4 separate regions of the Homo sapiens genome follow, and all the other regions are linked to region 4. Evidence: promoter capture Hi-C in human tissues and cell types (Jung and others, 2019). All regions are on one chromosome and are shown on one strand. Each heading gives the region's core, a stretch centred on a gene start or on the middle of the fragment in contact. The rest is flanking DNA. Distances are from core to core; before and after follow the strand shown.

Region 1 (5,123 bases), core at 1,526-4,025, 320 kb after region 4:
GGGTTTCCCCTAACAGGGCTGCCAAAAAAACCAAAGTGAAATGACAATAAACAGTATTATTTGGAAATGAAGATAAGCATATTGCATATTTTTGCTGCCTGTCTTCAAACTTTAACATCTGAAATGATGACATTTTCTTTTTGACAGCAAAACACAGCTTCGATAATTCATTCAAATAATAAAAAGCAGAAGAATCCTTATATTTTAAAAAATACATATTAAAATATTTATGACCATATATCTGAGATTTCCTTCAAAATAATAGGGGTGGAAAGAAGAAGTAAGGGCTAGGATGAAACAAGACTGATCACGAGCTGGTAATTGTTGAAGGTGGGTGATGAACCCCTGGGAATTCATTATCTTATCTTATGTATTTGAAAATCCTAATAAAAAATTTACAAAACAAAAAATTACAAATATACTATAAACATATATTTCAAAAATAACATTTATTTTTCAATCCTAATAGGTATTCTTAAAAACTCAGGGCATTTACTGATCTTTCAGAACTCCTAAAAAAGAAGTTACACAAACATTCAGCAATTCAGAAAAGTATTTTTAAGATTTGGCAACTTCTCTCTCATTCCATGTCCAGGTGTCCTGTTTCTTGAATTGCGGCTACTTAAAATGCCAGACCTTGAATATTTCTTCAAAAATCAATGGTGTTAAATTAAATTAAATTTGGCCTAAAGGTGCCTCCATACATAGTGACCTGCAACCTTAGTATGTGAACAAATGGCAACCTAAGAGTATTCTTGTAAAAAAAAATGGCTGAGTCTCAGCCAATCACAGCAGCCAAGCTTCAGCCAATCACAGGCTGCCAATTGTTCAGACCACTTCTACATAAGGCAAATGCCTCATCACAGGATGCCTGGATAAGGCAAATGCCAACCCGTAGGTAATCAAGCTGTTTCTGCAGGGCAATTCCCTTTTCTGCCTATAAATACTGCCAGCCCTCATTGCTGGGTGAAGCTCTCTGAACCTCTCCTGGTTCAGGGTGCTGCCAGATTCGTAAATCATTGTTCGTGCAGATCAACTCTGCTAAATGTAATTTGCCCTAAGTTTTTCTTTTAACAATGGGGTGACTGGTTTTGAAAACTGAAGGCAGACTTTACATAGTTGTTGAAATGATATGGTAAAGATGTCCTTAAGGACAGGTCAGAAGGCAACAGATTGCAGCAACTGAAACTCCGAACAGTTAAGTGACCTGCCCCAAATCAAACAGCTGGTCCACAGTGCAGGGAGGCTCTTGACCCTCACACTCTCCTTAGCCACGATCTTAAACTGCCCCTTAGAAAAAAAACCCAAGCGTACAGGTTTCAAATCAGAGGATTTTCAACTAAGAGGAGTTCCAAGACAGGCTAACTAGAAACAACAGGTTCATTAAATGATGTCTTTTACTAAAAACAAATATTATAAACTTTTAGTAAGAGCAGAGGCCCACAGTGAAGCTCAAAGTGACTACTTTTGAAAGGAAATTGCCATTGCTCTATCCACAGAAATACATCACACCTGTTACCACTGCACACTCTTGGCTAGAGATCAGGCATACTCCAGCATAATAAGATAAAAAAAAATCCTTTTGCTTTAAGCTGTGTTCTCTTATTTAGATTAGAACATAATGGTACTCACAATATTAAGAATTTAATGACTTAAAAGTCACTATACTACATATCACTGAGCAATGCAACGTGAAAAGATAATTTTCTATCCTCTCTTGCCCTTAGAAATTAAGTTCAGCAGGGTGAAGTAAAGTTCATGAATCCAGAAGATGGACTGACAAAACCTTTCCAACCAGTTGGTTCCCATTCCCCTCCACCATCCGACCCTAAGGCTACAGATCAACTATATACAACATGTATGTATAGTTCCCATATACATGTGATTCTGAGACACCATTTAGAGCCCTATTTAAAATAAAATAATCTGCAGAGAATGGACTTACGTAATTGCAACATTGCTCCCATCTATAACAATGTGTTTCAAATCCGTTCTCCCTGGTTCATTTTTTAATTCCAGCTTGTAGGGTATTTTTAGAGTATCTCGAAACCTTTGAACCCCAGTAACTGAGGAATCAATATGATCAGAAGGTCCTGCCGACCTTGCATCAGTAACCGAAGGTAACAGCTGGGGCAGTGGCATTGGTGGAGAAAGGGTTGAGCAATTTGGCTTAGAATGAGGAGAACTACAACATCCTAAACGTTTTTCACAGGCAGATTTCATATTATTTGGAAGCAAGGGTTCTGGCTGCTGGTGTAAACCATTTTCAGGAAAAAGTGGAACTCTGGGCTGGTGACTTGAAGCTCCCCTTGAAACAAAATTGACTTCTTTGGGACTTGGAGAGGCAACAGAAGGTGAAAGGCCATCAGTTTCAGGGTCTGTGTTACAAATGTAGTTCTGGTTTGAACCCCAGACTTCATGTTTCTGTTCTATTGGCACTGTTCTGAAAGTATTAATTCTACAATTTGAGGTACATGGTTTAGCTTCCACTTTGAATGGTAACTGAGAAAATTTTTCTACCATATTTTGCTGTGTGTGAGCCTGTGTTTTCTTTGGAGTGGAATCAGTTGTAAGCTCATTTGTGCTGCTATAAACACCTTTATTTTTGGTTTTGTTGGTCTCTGGATACACTGTACCAGCTGAAAATTCTCTGTCTTCTTGGAATCTTTTATTTTCTTTTTCAATTTCCTCTAAGAGCAATAATGGTTCAGTAGATGGTCCATACACCTTAATGACCTTTTCAACAATTTCTTGGGAGTAGCCCATGGTTTTAAAAAAGTTTACGAGGATGTTGTATTCCATTTCCTCAGTAGTTTCTTTTATATCTGGACTTAAATTTTCAGAATCAGCAGAAGAATCAGATAGGTCAGCTATTACATTTCCAGCCAATGTCTTAGCATCGTGTAAAATCTCCCCCTCCTGAACATTTTCCAAAGAAAACTGCTTCTTCGTATGCCTTTCTTCAGAATCAGAAAATCTCCTTTTCTGACAAATTCTCTCATTGGAAAGTGCCTCTTCATCTGGGGTTAGACCATTTATTGGATCAAAAAGCACATCTGGTGAGCTAGAAAGGACTGTGTCCATTTGTTTTGTAAGCTCAGAAACAGGAGTCCCAGCTTTATTTCTTGCCTCTTCCTGCAAAACAGTTTCATCTCTAGAAATATTCAGCCCTGTGGCAGCATTCTGTGTAAACTCTGTTTGTTGAGAATCTCTCATTTCAATAACCTCATCATCTCCTGTTTCAAAGAGATTCTCCTCACCTTGTGTGAGTGTCAAAAGTTCTTTTTTCAAGGAAGTGGGCAAAATCAACAAATCCATTGTGTAATTGTCTGCATGGGCTTCAACAAATTGTTTGAATTCCCTTTTCACCTCTGATTCTTTCTGACTACTGGGTAGGTTCTCTTTATTTTCAAAGAGCTTTACAAATTGTTGAATGTGACTCCTAGCCATGACCACAGCCTCAGCACTTCCTCTGATGCCAAGAAGGCCAATGTCCAGAATGCAGAGGTCAGCACAAGTATCCTGAATCAAGCTTTTCAGAAACAGGCTCTCTGCCCCAACAAAAATGCAGTGCATGTCCTTGGGGTAACATTCTCTTTCTTCTAGTTCAGGTTCACAGATTCCTTTAATATATTCCTGTAAAGAGAAAATAAGAAATTAGGTCAATTTACAAAAGTTCCTTATAGCACATAATAAATTACCATGTAACTACAAATGTCAGGCCGATTTTATAAAAATCACAAGCATGTTTGTAATTTTGAACAAAATGTCATGTTTTAAATAAAACATTGAAAATAACAGATATAACTTGCTTAAACCATCTTTAGAGGAACTGAAAACTCTGCATCCAAATCTAAAAGGTGGGTATTTTGTAACATTTTATGCAATGTGATCTTAGGGATTTGCTGAGCTACACAGTGAATAATCCCAAGGCTGGATTTATTTACATCTCTAATGAAAAGACATCTTTGCTTGCTACCAGTAATTTATTACTTCCATGACATAATCAAGAGATAAGATAATCAAATCAAGTGATTGACTACAGAACAAATCTTGACTTTTGCTACTATTACCCTTGGTTTCCAGATTTCTTGAAGGTATAAAAGAATAACATTAATTTTTTTTTTCAAAGCAAAAGCAAGTTTATTAAGAAGCAAGAATAACATTAATAAAAAATTTTTTTCCAGCTGGTTGAAACAATCTATATCCTGTATGATTTTCTGTCTGTTTTCTAAAGAAAACCAGACTGTTAAATTAAATGCAGATCTAACAGAACAAGTGAATGCTGGACAGTATTGGTGTTCTCAGATGTTGGTATTGAAATAAAAAATTTAAAAAAAAAAGTTTTCTTTTAATTTAGCCTGGGCAACATGGTGAAACCCCATTTCTACAAAAAATAAGCTGGGAATGGTGGTGTGTGCCTATAGTTCCAGCTACTTGGGAGGCTGAGATGGGAGGATCGCTTCAGCCCAGGAGACTGAGGCTGCAGTAAGCTGAGATCATGTCACTGCATTCCAGCCTGGGCCAAAGAGCGGGACCCTATCTCTAAAAAAAAATTTTTTAAATTTTTAATTGACAAATAATGATTGTATATATATATATAATTTTTTTTTTTTGAGATGGAGTTTTGTTCTAGTCACCCAGGCTGGAGTGGAATGGCGCGATCTCCCAGGTTCAAGCGACTCTTCTGCCTCAGCCTCCCAAGTAGCTGGGATTACAGGCATGTGCCACGACACCTGGCTAATTTTGTACGCTAGATGGGGTTTCACCATGTTGGCCAAGCTGGTCTTGAACTCCTGACCTCAGGTGATCCCCCTGCCTCCACCTCCCAAATTGCTGGGATTACAATTAGTTGCTACTGATTGAAACAGTCTATATCCTATGATTTTTTTGTCTGTTTTCTAAAGAAAATCAGACTGTTAAATTAAATGCAGATCTAATAGAACAAGTGAATGCTGGCGTGAGCCACTGTGCCTGGCTGATTGTATATATTCATGGGTTACACAGGGAAGTCTCAATACATATAATAATGTATAGTGATCAGAACAGGGTAATTAGCATATCCATTTCAAACATTTAGCATTTCTCTGTGTTGGGAGCACTCTATATCCTCCTTCTAGCTA
Region 2 (5,037 bases), core at 1,779-4,278, 270 kb after region 4:
CGTCTCTACTAAAAACACAAAAGTTAGCCAGGAAGCGTGGTGGCAGGCGCTTGTAATCCCAGCTACTTGGGAGGCTGCTTGAATCGATTGAACCAGGAGGTGGACGTTGCAGTGAGCCAAGATGGCACCACTGCACTCCAGCCTGGGTGACAGAGTGAGATTCCGTATCAAAAAACAAAAAAAATTATATATGCTTAAACATACATGCTTATGGATGCTTATGTATAGATGAAATGAATGATAACAATGAAACAAGGAACAGGAGAGAGAAATTAGAAATATTTTGTTATTATAAGGCACTTGCACTACCCTTTAAAAGGTGTAGTGTTATTTGAAATCAGGTTTGATTTAGTTTCAAAAGTATATTGATTTGTGTGTGTTTGTTTATAAAGAAAAATTTTTAAAAATGTATATTGCAAGTTTTAAGGCAACCAAGTTTTGAAGTAGAAGTAATATACTAAGCAAGGAGAGAAAATGGTATCCTACAAAATGCCTAATTAAAACCACAAAAGGCAGAGACAGAGTAAAAGACAAAAATAGGAACAAAGAATAAGGGCAGCACATTTTAAAATATGGTGGATAATAATCCAATTACATCAACAATTACTTTGAAAGCCAGTGCTCTAAATGTACCAATTAAGGACAGAGATTGTCACAGTATATCAAAAAATAAGATTCAACTGTAAGTTGTCTACAAAAAACCCACTTTAAATATAAAAACACATATACTTTAAAAGTAAAGAGATAAAGAAAGATATTCCATGCCAATGCACATCATAAGAAAGCAGTAGTTCTATTAATTTCAGACAGAGCTGACTTCAGCAAGGAAAGTGATCAGGAATAAAGAAGGCATTACAGAATGAGGGAGGGCTCAGTTCTCCAAGGCAACAATACTTAATATGTACACGCCTAACAACAGAGCATCGGTGCCTGAGAGGCAAAAACTGACAGACCTTCGAGAAGAAATAACGAACCCACTTTTAAAGTTGGAGATTTTGGCTGGGTGCAGTGGCTCACACCTGTAATCCCAGCACTTTGAGAGGCTGAGGAGGGCAGTTCACCTGAGGTCAGGAGTTTGAGACCAGCCTGGCCAACATGGTGAAACCCTGTCTCTACTAAAAGTACAAAAATTAGCTGGGTGTTGTTGTACGCGCCTGTAATCCCAGCTACTCAGGAGGCTGAGGCAGGAGAATCACTTGAACCCGGGACGCAGAGGTTGCAGTGAGCCAAGATCGCACCACTGCACTCCAGCCTGGGTGACAGAGCAAGACTCCGTCTAAATAAATAAATAAATAAATAAATAAATAAGTTGGAGATTTTAACACCCCTTTAACAGAAATGGACAGATCCAGCAGGCAGAACTCAATAGTACCATTAACAGCTGGTATATTGATCTATAAATGGCCTCACCCAGTGACAGCAGATTACACATTCTTCTGAAGCTCATATGGAATATTCACCAAGACAGACCACATTCAGGGCCATAAAAAACACCTTAAGGCCAGGTGTGATGGCTCACACCTGTAATCCCAGCACTTTGGGAGGCTGAGGCAGGCAGATCACCAGGTCAGGAATTTGAGACCAGCTTGGCCAACATAATGAAACCCTGTCTCTCCTAAAAATGCAAAAATTAGCCATGCATGGTGGCACGCACCTGTAGTCCCAGCTACTTCGGAGGGTGAGGCAGGAGAATCGCTTGAACCCGGGAGGCAGAGGTTGTGGTGAGCCGAGATTGCACCACTGCACTCCAGCCTGGGCGACAGAGCAAGACTCCGTCTCAAAAAAAATAAATAAATAAAAACAAAAAAAATCTTAATACATTTAAAAGAATAGAAACCATCCAATGTCTGGCCTCAGACCACAGTGGAATTAAACTAGAAATCAGTAAGAGAAAGATAGCTAGAAAATTCCCAAATACTTGGGGATTAAACAACACACTTCTGCATAACACAAAGGTCAAAAAAGAACTCTCAAGAAAAATTTAAAAATATTTTGAACTAAGTGAAAATGAGAACACAACTAATCAAAATTGTGTGATGTAGCGAAAGTAGTGTTTAGAGAGAAATTGATAATATTGAATGTATGTATCAAAAAAATAGAGATCTAAAATCAACAATTTAAGCTTCCCCTTTAGGAAACTAGAAAAAAAAATTAATTTACACAAAGCAATTTTACACAATTATTTGTGTAATTAATTTACACAAATTTGTGTAATTTGTGTAATTAATTTACACAAATTAAATTTACACAAAACAGAAGAAAAGAAATAATAAAAACCAAAGTAAAACTCAATGAAATTGAAAATAGGAAATCAATAGAGAAAATCAATGAAACTAAAGGGTGGGTCTTTGCAAGACCGATAAAATTCATAAGCCTCTAGCCAGACTAGGAAAAGAGAGCAGACACAAATGACTAATATCAGAACTGTAATTCACTACAGATGAATTAAAAGAATAAATTCATGAGTTAAAAGAATAAAAAATAATATTATGAACAATTCTATGCCCACCAATTTTATGATCTAGATAAAATACACCCATTCCTTGAAACATATAATCTGCCAAGCTGCAATGGAGCAAAGATAGTCTTTTCAACAAATGGTGCTGGAATAACTGAACATCCACATGTCAAAAAATGAATCTAGGCTGGGTGCAGTGACTCATACCTGTAATCCCAGCACTTTGGGATGCTGGGGCAAGAGGATCCCTTGAGCCCAGGAGTTCAAGACAAGCTTGGGCAATATAGTGAGATCTTGTCTGTACAAAAAAAATAGAAAAAGTAACCAGTTGTGGTGGTGCATACCTGTGGTCCCAGCTACTCGGGAGGCTGAGGCAGGAGGATTGGTTGAGCCCAAGAGGTCAAGGCTGCAGTGTGCTGTGATTGTGCCACTGTACTACTACCATCTGGGTGACAGAGTGAGACCCTGTCTCAAAAAAAAAAAAAAAATCTAGACACAGAACTTATACTCTTCATAAAAATTAACTCAAAATGGATCATAGACCTAAATGTACAAATGCAAAACTATAAAACTCCTAGAAGATGACATAGGAGAGAACCTTGATGGCCTTGAGTATGGCAATGAATTTTTAGATGCAACACCAAAGACCTGATCCATGAAATAAATAATTGATAAGCTGGACTTGATTTAAATTTAAAAACTTCTGCTCCATGAAAGACAATGTCAAGACAATGACAAGACAAGCCAGAGACTGGGAGAAAATACTTGCAAAAAACATATCTGATGAAGGACTATTATCCAAATATACAAAGAACTCTTGAAACCCAACAATAAGACAATGAATAATGCTATTTAAGAATGGGCCAATGGCCTTATCAGATACTTCACAAAAGGAGACATACAGACAGCAAATAGCATATGAAAAGATGCTCCACATCATATGTCATCAGGGAAATGCAAATTAAAACAATGAGATACCACTATGAACCTATTAGAATGGCCAAAATCCAGAACACAAACAACACTAAATGCTGATGAGGATGTGGAACAACAGAAACTCTCATTCACTCCTGGTGGGAATGTAAAATGGTACAGCCATTTTGGAAGACATTTTGGCAGGTTTTTATAACACTAAACATCATCTCACCATTTGGTCTAGCAATTGCACTCCTGGGTATTTACCCAAAGGAGCTGAAAACTTATGCCCACACGAAATGCTGCAATAGGCCAGGTGCAGTGGCTCAGGCCTGTAATCCCAGCACTTTGGGAGGCCAAGGCGAGAGGATTGCTTGAGCCCAGGAGTTCGAGACCAGCCTGGGCAAAACAGCTCAACCGCATCTCTACAAAAAAGTTGAAAAATTAGCTGGGTGTGGTGGCGTGCACCTGTAGTTTCAAGTACTCAAAAGGCTGAGGTGAGAAGATCGCTTGAGCCTGAGAGGTCAAGGCTGCAGTGAGCCATGATTGCACCACTGCACTCCAGCCTGGGTGACAGTGTGAGACCCTGTCTCAAAAAAGCAAAAAAAGCTGCACACAGATGTTTGTAGCAGCTTTATTTATAACTGTCAAAATTTGGAAGCAACCAAGATGTCCTTCAGTAGTGAATGGATAAATAAACTTTGGTACATTCAAACAATGGAGTATTATTCAACATTAAAAAGAAATTAGCTATGAACCCACAGAGAGACATGGAAGAAATTTAAATGAACATTATTAGGTGAAAGAAGCCAATCTGAAAAGGCTACTTACTGTATGATTCCAACTATATGACATTCTGGAAAAGGCAAACCTATGGGAGCAATAAAAAGATCAGTGGTTGCAGCCGGGTGTGGTGGCTCATGCCTGTAATTCTAGCACTTTGGGAGGCCGAGGCTGGCGGATTGCCTGAGCTCAGGAGATTGCCTGAGCTCAGGAGTTTGCCTGAGCTCAGGAGTTCGAGACCAGCCTGGTCAACATGGTGAAACCCTATCTCTACTAAAATATAAAAAATTAGCCAGGTGTGGCAGCGTTTGCCTGTAGTCCCAGCTATTTGGGAGGCTGAGGCAGGAGAATCGCTTGAACCCAGGAGGCAGAGGTAGCAATGAGCCGAGATCACACCACTGCACTCTAGCCTATACAACAGAGCGAGACTCCGTCTCCAAAAAAAAAAAAAAAAAAAAAAAAAAAAAAAGATCAGTGGTTGCTAGAAGTTAAGGGGAGGGAAAGATGAACAGGGGGAGCACAGAGGACGTTTGGGGCAGGGCAACTCCTCTAATGTGTGGTACTGCAGTAGTGGACACGTGGCATTATACATTTGTCAAAACCCATAGAATGCACAATACCCAGAATGAATTCTCATGCAAACTATGAACTTTGGGTGATGGTGTGTGGAGGCAGGTTCATCACTTTTAATGAATGTACCAATCTGTTGGGGGATGTTGATGGTGAGGGAGGCTGCTGGGCATGTGTGGGAACAGGGTGTATATGGGAACTCTCTGTACTTTCCATTCGATTTTTCTGTGAACCCAAAACTGTTCTAAGAAATAACATTTACTAATTTAAAAATTTTTTAAATGCTGGGCCTGGTAGTGCATGCCAATAGT
Region 3 (4,904 bases), core at 1,366-3,865, 350 kb after region 4:
CTTCCATAAAAACCCAAATGGACTGGCTTTGGAGAGTTTCAGGATAGCTAATACCTATCCTGAAGGGTGTTGTTCCTGGAGAGGGTATGGAAGCTCTAAGCCCTTTCCCTCATACCTTGCCCTATGCATCGCTTCATCTATAACCTTTGTAACAGCCTTTACAATTAACCAGTAAGTGTCTTGCCCAGAGTTCTCTGAGCTGCTTAGCTAATTAACAAAACCCATGGAGTGAGTTGTGAGAAAATCGATTTATAGCCCATCAGTCATAATCACAAAACAACCTGGGAAACTTTTCCCTAGATCCCTACAAGGGTATAGAACCTGCCAAAGGAATTCACTTTGTAGACTGGTGAAACCACCTTTGCAAAAATTATAACTGAGGAAATTATGACAGTGAAAGAGATCAGACCTAATTGACTCCATCTTGTATCTAACCTTTGGGCTGTTCTTGTTCATTGCTGGGTGTAGGTCGAAATAACCTTGGGAAGGAATTCAGTTTACGGTTTGACTCTGAAACAAAACTGGTAACAGCCCTTTCTCGGAAAGACCCCCTTCTTGCTTGGGGACCAGTCTGCCTTTGAAGGACTAACAAATTAGCTACAAGATTAGAAATGATGGTTTAGGAGTCATATAGCTTCTGGCTCCAAGAGTCTGAACCTCCCCAAATTGCTCCTGGGGATAACATCACTATTGTAAAACCTAAAATTAGTGGTTGAAATATTTTGCAGACTCTGCACTCAATGAATCAGCTGACACCACCCAGATCCATATTCTGGCTCAACCAATTCTGCCATCCCACCCAGGAACAGAAGACAGCAAGAAAACCTCACTTTGACCCCCATGATTCCATCTCCAACCTGACCAATCAGCACTCCCCACTTCCCAAGCCCCTACCTGCCAAATTATCTTTAAAAACTGATCCCTGAACGCTGGGGGAGAGGGTTTTGAGTAATAATAAAACTCTAGTCTCCCACACAGCCAGCTGTGTGTGAATTACTCTTTCTCCACTGCAGTTCCCCTGTCTTGATAAATTGGCTCTGTCTAGGCAGAGGGCAAGGTGAACCTGTTGGTTGGTTACAAATTTGGAGGCTTGTCCAGGATTGCTCTTGTGGCTACCTGCCTGTGGTTTGGTAGCACCCCTCTGGCAATGGATCCAGAGGCCAGCCCAAGCGGCTGCCTAGTTCTCTTGGATTGGTGGCTGACTCTGACACTGTCTCTACCGACAGGGCACTGCCAACCCAATGTGCATGAATTTAATTGCAATGGAGAAACAATCCTGGGCAGATGTCCAATAACTGTTCCCCTATCACAGGGTGTCTGGCTCAGTGAGTATCCTAGGCGCTGCCACAGCTCCTTCCTTCTCCCAAATGGTTCCATAGCCCCATGGTGTGGTATGTGTCTGCAGCTCCATCACCGAGTGTCTGTCTTGGTTCGGCTCCTTTGGGGTCTCAGTTGGCTCTCCTTAATTAGTAGGAAGAGTCTTAGTTAGGAAGACTTCTCCTCAATCCAGAAGATTTAGGGGAGATTTCTCAGGCAGAGAATAGGAGGATAGTTTGGAAGGGGTACTCTGAAATTATTGGTTAGGGATCTTGATTTGGAAGCTCTTCTGTCTGTCTTGTCTTTGTGTGTTTCTGTATATGGTGGGGATCTCTGAAGGAACTGCTGACAAAAGTCAAAAATTATCTTGAGCAATTAAAAGCCTTTGCAAGCTTGAAATTGGCTCCTCTAAGCACCTTCTGGGAAGAGCAATAGAACCTGCTGAATGTTGTAACTCAGTAGACAAGGCTTTTTGTCTTTTGACAGTGGCAGCCCAGGTTGAATTCTTGGCTTCGGAAATGATTCCTTTCTGGTTTGTTACTTAACTTTCCCACTTTTTGAGGGTCCCACCCCCACCCCAATGGCTAGCTTCCGATTTCCTGTCTTGAATTTTTCTTTCTCCAAACTGCCCTTGGGAAGATTCTAAATCTTGTAAAAAGAAGCTGCTTACCATCTCTTTGAAACACCTTATGGGTCCATGGTTAAGCTGTAACCTTAGCTAAAACTTATTAATTTCACATGGGAAGTTACCTGTGGCAAAGTTCAAAAGCCAGAAATATTGACTGTCCTGGCTAGAGTCTGATAATAAGAGATTTTTAAAAAAAAATTTAAAAAGAGCTCTATGGTTAAAATCAACTTAATTAAAAATGGATATCCAAGCTCTATTATTTTAAAAGGCCTTGGTTTTTTTTTTTTTTTTCTTCTTGGATATTGGTTGTTTTTGTGAAAAAGTTTTTGTTTTTCTTCTCAGTCAACTGAATTATTTCTCTACTTTGCCCTCCTGATGCCCACATGAGAGAACTTAAGATAATTTCTAACAGCTTCCACTTTGGAAAAAAAAAAAACCTGTTTTCCTCATGGAACCCCAGGAGTTGAAAGTGGATAGATCGCTCTCAAAATCTAAGGCTCTGTTCAGCTTTACATTATGTTACCTGACGTTTTTTTTTTTTTCCAAGTTTTGGGGGTATCAGAAATTACTCTGCATTATGGGAGAGCTGTTAGCCTTGGTGTGCAAAAATTAGGTACAAAATGTACTTTAAGGGATGGCTAATAACAGTTACAGAGGGATACTTGGCTCACTGCACGCTTTAATCAAAGAAGCATGCTCTTGGCCACCTGGAAGGTAAGGAGGAAAAATCCCCACACTCTACTGAGAGATGAGATTCCCATGGGGGATGGGCTAATTACAAAATGGGCTGATTGCCAGGAGGTGGAGGTTGCAATGAGCCAAGGTCACACCACTGCAATCTAGCCTGGGTGACAGGGCAAGATTCCATCCCCCCAGAACAGAAACAAAAACAAAATCGGCTGACTGGGTTTGGGTTGCCAGGCAATTAAATGCATGGTAAAAGCATTGCACCGTTTTCTCCAACAGCATTTCCCTTTTGAAAATCCAGGATGCAATATAAAAATGGGACCCTTAATTTTGAGAATGTCTTTGCTTTCCAGCTGTGCCTGCTTTTTAGGCCCTAGTAACTGCATGCTTTCCTAGCCTTGTTTCGTGAAGGGCTCTGCCCTGAAGCCAGTAATCCAACTTAAGAAACTGGCAAATGAAAAATGTTACAACTACTGGATATTCTGTCTGTGTATGTGTTGTGTGTGATGTTTATATAAAAGAGCTCTAATTAACTAGCTTAAAGAAAAATAAGCACTTAAATCAGATATTTTGTCAGAAAAACTAAAACTAATGAGCTAGTTTAGTTCATATAACTTTCGTAATCTTTTGGTAATAAACAGTTTTAAAGATTACTGGTAAATAAAAATATCTTCCAAATTTAGACATTTCATCTAAATTAGGTCAAATATTAGGTTTGCTAAATGCTCTAAGGTCATAAACTGCTTCTTTAACTTTTGAAAATTCTTCAATATACCTCCCTTGGAGCCATTACATTCTAGGTAAGGTCTGGGGACATGTGAAATTAGCCCCCATAAAGAAAATATTTTATACAAAAGAATCTTGTATGGTAAATTCTTGTCCTAAAGTAAAAAGACTGGTTGTTTAAAGAGAGGGGTGGTTAGGACAAGTCAGAAAGTCCAAGCATGTCATAGATGGTCTAAGTCATGAAAGGATTCATGAAAGGAAATTTATGCAAGAAATGTTATACAATTTAAAGATTATTAGGTCCCCTAAATATTTCATAAACTGCCACTATGACTTCACAACCTGCCTGCTTTACAGCTAGGTAAGGCCTGGGGACATGTGGAGTCAGCCAAGTCCCCTGGCTATGCTGGAAAGTCAGACCTTATCTGCACTTCTGACTGGTGTCTGTTCTAGGCTCCACACCTGGTACATAATTACAATTGCTTACTAACCAGGTTTTTCACCGAAAGTAAAAGTTGCTAAGAGTTAACAGTGTAACATGTATTTGAGACTACTGAAGAAACAGTTCTACACACAAAGTGTGTAAGGAAAGCAGAATGTACTTTTGGTAAAAGATTTTAAGAAGGCATGGGAATATGAATTTCTCACCTAAGTTTAGAGGGTTAAAGGATTGTGTTAAGTGAGGAAGGAAAAAATCTAAAGGTTTAAACAAGTTGTGAAAGGTTTATAAAAAATTAATGTGTGCAAACATATTGGCTAAAGTTAAAGAGGTATTATTCTGTTTTTCCATAAATTGAACATTGGAATAAAAGTGCAACAGAGTTTTCCTAAATCATTGTTCTGCTCTTTAACAAAAAAAATATTGTAAAGGGTTATAAAAGGTTTATAAGAATCTTACCTTATGGTCAAACTAACTAAAACTGAATAGATTTGTAAAATGCTATTAAACTAAATTTAGGCTGGACGTGGTGGCTCACACCTGTAATTCCAGCACTTTGGGAAGCCGAGGCAGGCGGATCACCTGAGGTTAGGAGTTTGAGACTAGCCTGACCAATATGGTGAAATAGTGTCTCTACTAAAAATTAGCCGGGTGTGTTGGCGGGTGCCTGTAGTGCCAGCTACTCAGGAGGCTGAGACAAAAGAGTTGCTTGAAACCAGTAGGCGGAGGTTGCAGTGAGCCGAGATCATGCCACTGCACTCCAGCCTGGGTGCCAGAGCAAGACTCCGTCTCAAAAAAAAAAAAAAAAACAAAAAAAAAACCACCTAGCTTTAGCATTTTAAAGATGCACTAATGCAAACATTAAATTTGGTTTTCTCTTTTGAAAAGAATTTTCATGTAATATTAAAAGATAACGAAAGGTTTTCATTTGCCTTTTAAGTAAACTACAAAAAAGGTGGCGGAGGGGGTGGTGTTGAGAGAAAAGACAAATCAGTTGGCATCATGCTATCTTCACTGGATCTTGTTGTTTGGAAAGCTGAGTCTCCTTTCTACCACAGTAAAGGTTTTTCCTGTTTTAAAATTTGTGGGTTATCATTTTGGTTAAAT
Region 4 (5,269 bases), core at 1,512-4,011:
AACTACTTTAAAGCTCATATAGAACCAAAAAAGAGCCGGCATTGCCAAGACAATCGTAAGCCAAAAGAACAAAGCTGGAGGCAACATGCTACCTGACTTCAAACTATACTACAAGGCTATGGTAACCAAAACAGCATGGTACTGGTACCAAAACAGAGATATAGACCAATGGAACAGAACAGAGCCCTCAGAAATAATACCACACATCTACAACCATCTGATCTCTGACAAACCTGACAAAAACAAGAAATGGGGAAAGGATTCCCTATTTAATAAATGGTGCTGGGAAAACTGGCTAGCCATATGTAGAAAGCTGAAACTGGATCCCTTCCTTATACCTTATACAAAAATTAATTCAAGATGGATTAAAGACTTAAATGTTAGACCTAAAACCATAAAATTCCTAGAAGAAAACCTAGGCAATATCATTCAGGACATAAGCATGGGCAAGGACTTCATGACTAAAACACCAAAAGCAATGGCAACAAAAGCCAAAATTGACAAATGGGATCTAATTAAACTAAAGAGCTTCTGCACAGCAAAATAAACCACCATCAGAGTGAACAGGCAACCTACAGAATGGAAGAAAATTTTTACAATCTACCCATCTGACAAAGGGCTAATATCCAGAATCTACAAAGAACTTAAACAAGTTTACAAGAAAAAATCAAACAACCCCATCTAAAAGTGGGCAAAGGATATGAACAGACACTTCTCAAAAGAAGACATTTATGCAGCCAACAGACACATGAAAAAATGCTCATCATCAGTGGCCATCAGAGAAATGCAAATCAAAACCACAATGAGATACCATCTCACACCAGTTAGAATGGCAATCATTAAAAAGTCAGGAAACAACAGGTGCTGGAGAGGATGTGGAGAAATAGGAACACTTTTACACTGTTGGTGGGACTGTAAACTAGTTCAACCATTGTGGAAGACAGTGTGGCAATTCCTCAAGGATCTGGAACTAGAAATACCATTTGACCCAGCCATCCCATTGCTGGGTATATACCCAAAGGATTATAAATCATGCTGCTATAAAGACACACACACACGTATGCTTACTGCGGCACTATTCGCAATAGCAAAGACTTGGAACCAACCCAAATGTCCATCAATGATAGACTGGATTAAGAAAATGTGGCACATATACACCATGGAATACTATGCAGCCATAAAAAAGGATGAGTTCATGTCCTTTGTAGGGACATGGATGATGCTGGAAACCATCATTCTGAGCAAACTATCGCAAAGACCGAAAACAAAACACTGCAAGTTCTCACTCATAGGTGGCAACTGAACAATGAGAACACTTGGACACAGGGTGGGGAACATCACACTCAGGGGCCTGTCGTTGGGTGGTGGGGAGTGGGGGGGAAGGGATACCATTAGGAGATATACCTAATGTAAATGACGAGTTAGTGAGTGCAGCAAACCAACATGGCACATGTATACATATGTAACAAACCTGTACGTTGTGCACATGTACCCTAGAACTTAAACTATAATAAAAAATAAAATTAAATTAAAAACAGAAAAAAAATAAAAGTATCAAGGTTGTAAAAAAAAAAAAAATTGGACGGGCGCAGTGGCTCAGGCCTGTAATCCCAGCACTTTTGGGAGGCCAAGGCGGGCAGATCACGAGGTCAGGAGATTGAGACCATCCTGGCTAACATGGCGAAACCCCGTCTCTACTAAAAATACAAAAAATTAGCCGGGCGTGGTTGCGGGTGCCTGTAGTCCCCAGCTACTCGGGAGGCTGAAGCAGGAGAATGGCATGAACCCGGGAGGCGGAGCTTGCAGTGAGCCGAGATCTCGCCACTACACTCCAGCCTGGGTGACAGAGCGAGACTCCGTCTCAAAAAAAAAAAAAAAAAAAAAAAATTGAGGACTTGCCACAGATTAGAGAACACCTAGGAGATTTCATAACAAAACACCTAGGAGATTTCACAACAGGATCCTGGATATTGGATCCTGGACCAGATCCAATGAAGGACATTAGTGGGAAAACTGGCAAAATTTGGGTAAGGCCTATAGGTTAAACGATAATAATGTTAATTTCCTGGTTTTGATCATTGAACTATGATTATGTAAGATGATAACAGACGAAACTGGGTGAAAGGTATATAGGAACTCTGCTGTAGTTTTGTACATCTAAAATCAATTCGGGCCGGGCACGTTGGCTCACGCCTGTAATCCCAGCACTTTGGGAGGCCGAGGTGGACGGATCGCTTGAGGTCAGGAGTTAAAGACCAGCCTGGCCAACATGGTGAAATCCCCTCCCTACTAAAAATACAACAATTAGCTGGGTGTGGTGGCGGGCATCTGTAATCCCAGCTACTCGGGAGGCTGAGGCAGGAGAATCGCTTGAACCCGGGAGGCAGAGGCTGCAAGCCGTGGGTATCGCGCCATTGCACTCCAGCCTCCGCGACAGAGCGAGAATCTGTCTCAGAATAAATAAATAAATAAATAAATAAATAATTAGTTCGAATCAAAAGTTAAAAACACTTCAAGTATATGTAAAAAATCGAAGAAAACGTTAAAAACACTTCAAGTATATACAATTCAAATAAGATCATCCTTCCAAATATACTCTGTAAGTGAGGCGAAGGTCGCTGCACGCTTGAGTGCACGTCTTTCCGCATAGGTAGGACGCTCAAGTCTTACCGGGAGGCTCTCCTAGAGAGCAGCGCGAAGCCATGGCTTTTGGGCCCGGGGACGGACCGTAGCGCGTAGCCGGAAGCGGAGGCGTGGAGGCGGGTCTGAGGTTTGGTGACTGCGGGGCAGGCCGGGGGCAGCTGTCTGTCTGGCTCTTTTTGACAGCCCCCAGTGCGAAAGGCTGCCAGCATGTCATCAGTGAGCCCCATCCAGATCCCCAGTCGCCTCCCGCTGCTGCTCACCCACGAGGGCGTCCTGCTGCCCGGCTCCACCATGCGCACCAGCGTGGACTCGGCCCGCAACCTGCAGCTGGTGCGGAGCCGCCTTCTGAAGGGCACGTCGCTGCAAAGCACCATCCTGGGCGTCATCCCCAACACGCCTGACCCCGCCAGCGACGCGCAGGACCTGCCGCCGCTGCACAGGTAGGCCTGGCTGCCCCCGCGGCGGCGGCGGGCGGCGCGGCCTCCTCCGGGGACCTGGGCCCAGGCCACGGCCTGCCTTGAGCGCGAGGCTCAGTTCGGGGCGGCCTTCGCGGCTCGGTTCCGCCTCTCTGGTGCTATCACTTGCAAAATGGGGATGTCAGATACCTGCCCCATGACCATGAATGAGATCGTTCATGAAGTAGTGCCTGACACCTGGTGAAACTACGCAGTTCCCTACCGTTCTGGATAATTTAATTTGAATCCTCTTCCCCCTCTCCGCAATTCCTCGCCCTCGGTCTTCAGCCTCCTAGGCCAGTGCTTTTAACTTTCCAGGCCCTTTCTTTCTCCCCGGTGATCTCTGCCTTCACTTGCCTTCGCTTTTCACCTTTCTCCCCACTGCCCTTTACTCCTATCCGCCTCCCCTTTTCTGTCACCCATCATTTTTGTCCGCTGAGGCATTCTCTGCTCCGTGAGTTTTAACTTTTCCTGTTTCATTCCTAAACTGCACTATTTGTGGGTGCCTTTCTTCTATACTCCCTGCCACCCTTCTCCTTCTCCCCCTAATCCTTCTGTTTCCCTTTGTAAAGGGCCTTTACTGCTCACATTTTCGCTGGTCCCCCTTTCTGGAACTTTCCTAGCTTCTCACCTCTGCTCCTTCACTCATAACATTTCTTAGGCCCCAGGCTTACTACTATATTGCCCAGTACCCTCGCCCTATTGGTGTGACTTTGGGTGAGAGCTTTAACCTCTATTTCTTTTATTCTGCAATTTGGAAACTGACAGCATCCATCTCTTAGGCAAGTTATGAAGAATAAATTGAATAATGTGTATATTCCACTTTGCACCATGCATGATGGATGACTTTGCTGTCCAGTACTGTGTAGTGCATGTGGCTCGTCAAATTGAGATGATAGAATTGCCAGTTGTCCTGGTTTGCTGCGATTGTCTGTTTTAGCATTGAAAGTCCTATGTTTTAGCCCCTCCGTCCCAGGGAAACCAGGAGGTTGGTCACCCTAAATGTGCTGTAAGTGTACAATACACGCCAGATTTTGAAAAAACTTTTTGATTAATACATTTTATATGGATTAAATGTTGGAAAGGTAATATTTTGAGTACTTGGGGTTAATAAAATGTTAAGATTTCTGCTGTTTTTACTTTATAATGTGGCCACTAAAATTTTATATGTGGTCCACATTATATTTTTATTGGACAATGCTGGTATATCGTATGCTCTCAACAAGTATCTTCAAACTCACCTGCCAAGCACCCGCCTCCTATTCCTAACTCTACTGGAGGTGTTGTGTTTTCAGTTTAGAGCTTCTCCTTTCCTGGCAGTTATCCCTTATTTTTAAATTAGGGGTTCCTGACTCTGAATGGATTTCCGGAGGGTTGGACATGTCTTATTTTTCCTCAAAATCTTGTGACTATGTACATTTTTTTAGGAGAATCCTTTGCTTTCTTCAGATTCTCAAAGGAGACTGGTACCTCCCCCCACCCCCGTTAAAAGAAAGCAAAACAAAGCAACAAAGACCAACAAACCTTCCACAGCAGCCCAGTATTCATTTATATTGTAAAAGCCTTGATTTTCTCAAGCATGGAAAATATTTTGGCTCCCATCTGACCTGCTTTGGTTATTGCCTGAGTGGAATTGGTCACATTCCAAGTTTCAGTACTCTTTGATAAATTGTATTGGATTCTAGTTTCCCAACATACGACTCTGCTCCTTCTGCTTACTTTTCCCAAATTATTTTGCCTTCTGTGCCCAGGCACACTTAGTTCCCTGTCTAGGCAAGAGTGGTCATTATTAGACTTCATTTTCTTTCTACTGTGCATATGTATTGATTAGCCATGGGCACATTGTGAACTTGAAAAGTCGATTTAGTCACATTTTAAGTTTCACTATTTGTTGGTATTATTCTGGCAAGATTTTGGAAGGTTTTTATTATTTATTCATTTGTGTATTTTTTGAGACAGAGTCTCATTCTGTCTCCTCCGCTGAAGTGCAGTGGCGTGATCGTAGCCCACCGCAACCTTGATTGAACTCCTGGGCTCAAGTGATCGTCCTGCCTCAGCTTCTGGAGTGGCTGGGACTATAGGCGTGCACCACTACACCCAGCTAATTTTTAAATTTTTTGTAGAAATGGGGTCTCACTATGTTGCTTAGGCTGGTCTCAAACTCCTGGACT

What was found. Contacts are between HindIII fragments. The study calls those that stand out against the background at their distance.
Region 1: a fragment that was not itself captured here is called in contact with the fragment with the promoter of LONP2 in region 4 in 5 of the 25 tissues and cell types used here (dorsolateral prefrontal cortex, liver, lymphoblastoid cells and 2 more).
Region 2: a fragment that was not itself captured here is called in contact with the fragment with the promoter of LONP2 in region 4 in 2 of the 25 tissues and cell types used here (dorsolateral prefrontal cortex and neural progenitor cells).
Region 3: a fragment that was not itself captured here is called in contact with the fragment with the promoter of LONP2 in region 4 in 2 of the 25 tissues and cell types used here (dorsolateral prefrontal cortex and lymphoblastoid cells).

What each region holds. Positions count from the first base shown.
Region 1 is chr16:48,558,809-48,563,931 of GRCh38, forward strand. It overlaps N4BP1 (NEDD4 binding protein 1), which reads right to left. Exons shown (of 7, transcript NM_153029.4): 2 at 1,946-3,636. Among named protein-coding and RNA genes, the nearest start is that of N4BP1, 49 kb to the right of the region's middle. The HindIII fragment of the contact is 5,231 bases long and covers 161-5,123 here.
Region 2 is chr16:48,515,010-48,520,046 of GRCh38, forward strand. No RefSeq gene overlaps it. Among named protein-coding and RNA genes, the nearest start is that of N4BP1, 93 kb to the right of the region's middle. The HindIII fragment of the contact is 4,119 bases long and covers 970-5,037 here.
Region 3 is chr16:48,589,413-48,594,316 of GRCh38, forward strand. All of the region lies in intron 1 of N4BP1 (NEDD4 binding protein 1), which reads right to left. Among named protein-coding and RNA genes, the nearest start is that of N4BP1, 18 kb to the right of the region's middle. The HindIII fragment of the contact is 4,938 bases long and covers 147-4,904 here.
Region 4 is chr16:48,241,539-48,246,807 of GRCh38, forward strand. LONP2 (lon peptidase 2, peroxisomal) reads left to right here and starts at 2,762. Exons shown (of 15, transcript NM_031490.5): 1 at 2,762-3,083. The coding sequence starts at 2,851. The region is part of intron 1 of ABCC11 (ATP binding cassette subfamily C member 11); the gene reads right to left. RefSeq lists an enhancer at 2,698-2,787. The HindIII fragment of the contact is 28,002 bases long and covers 1-5,269 here.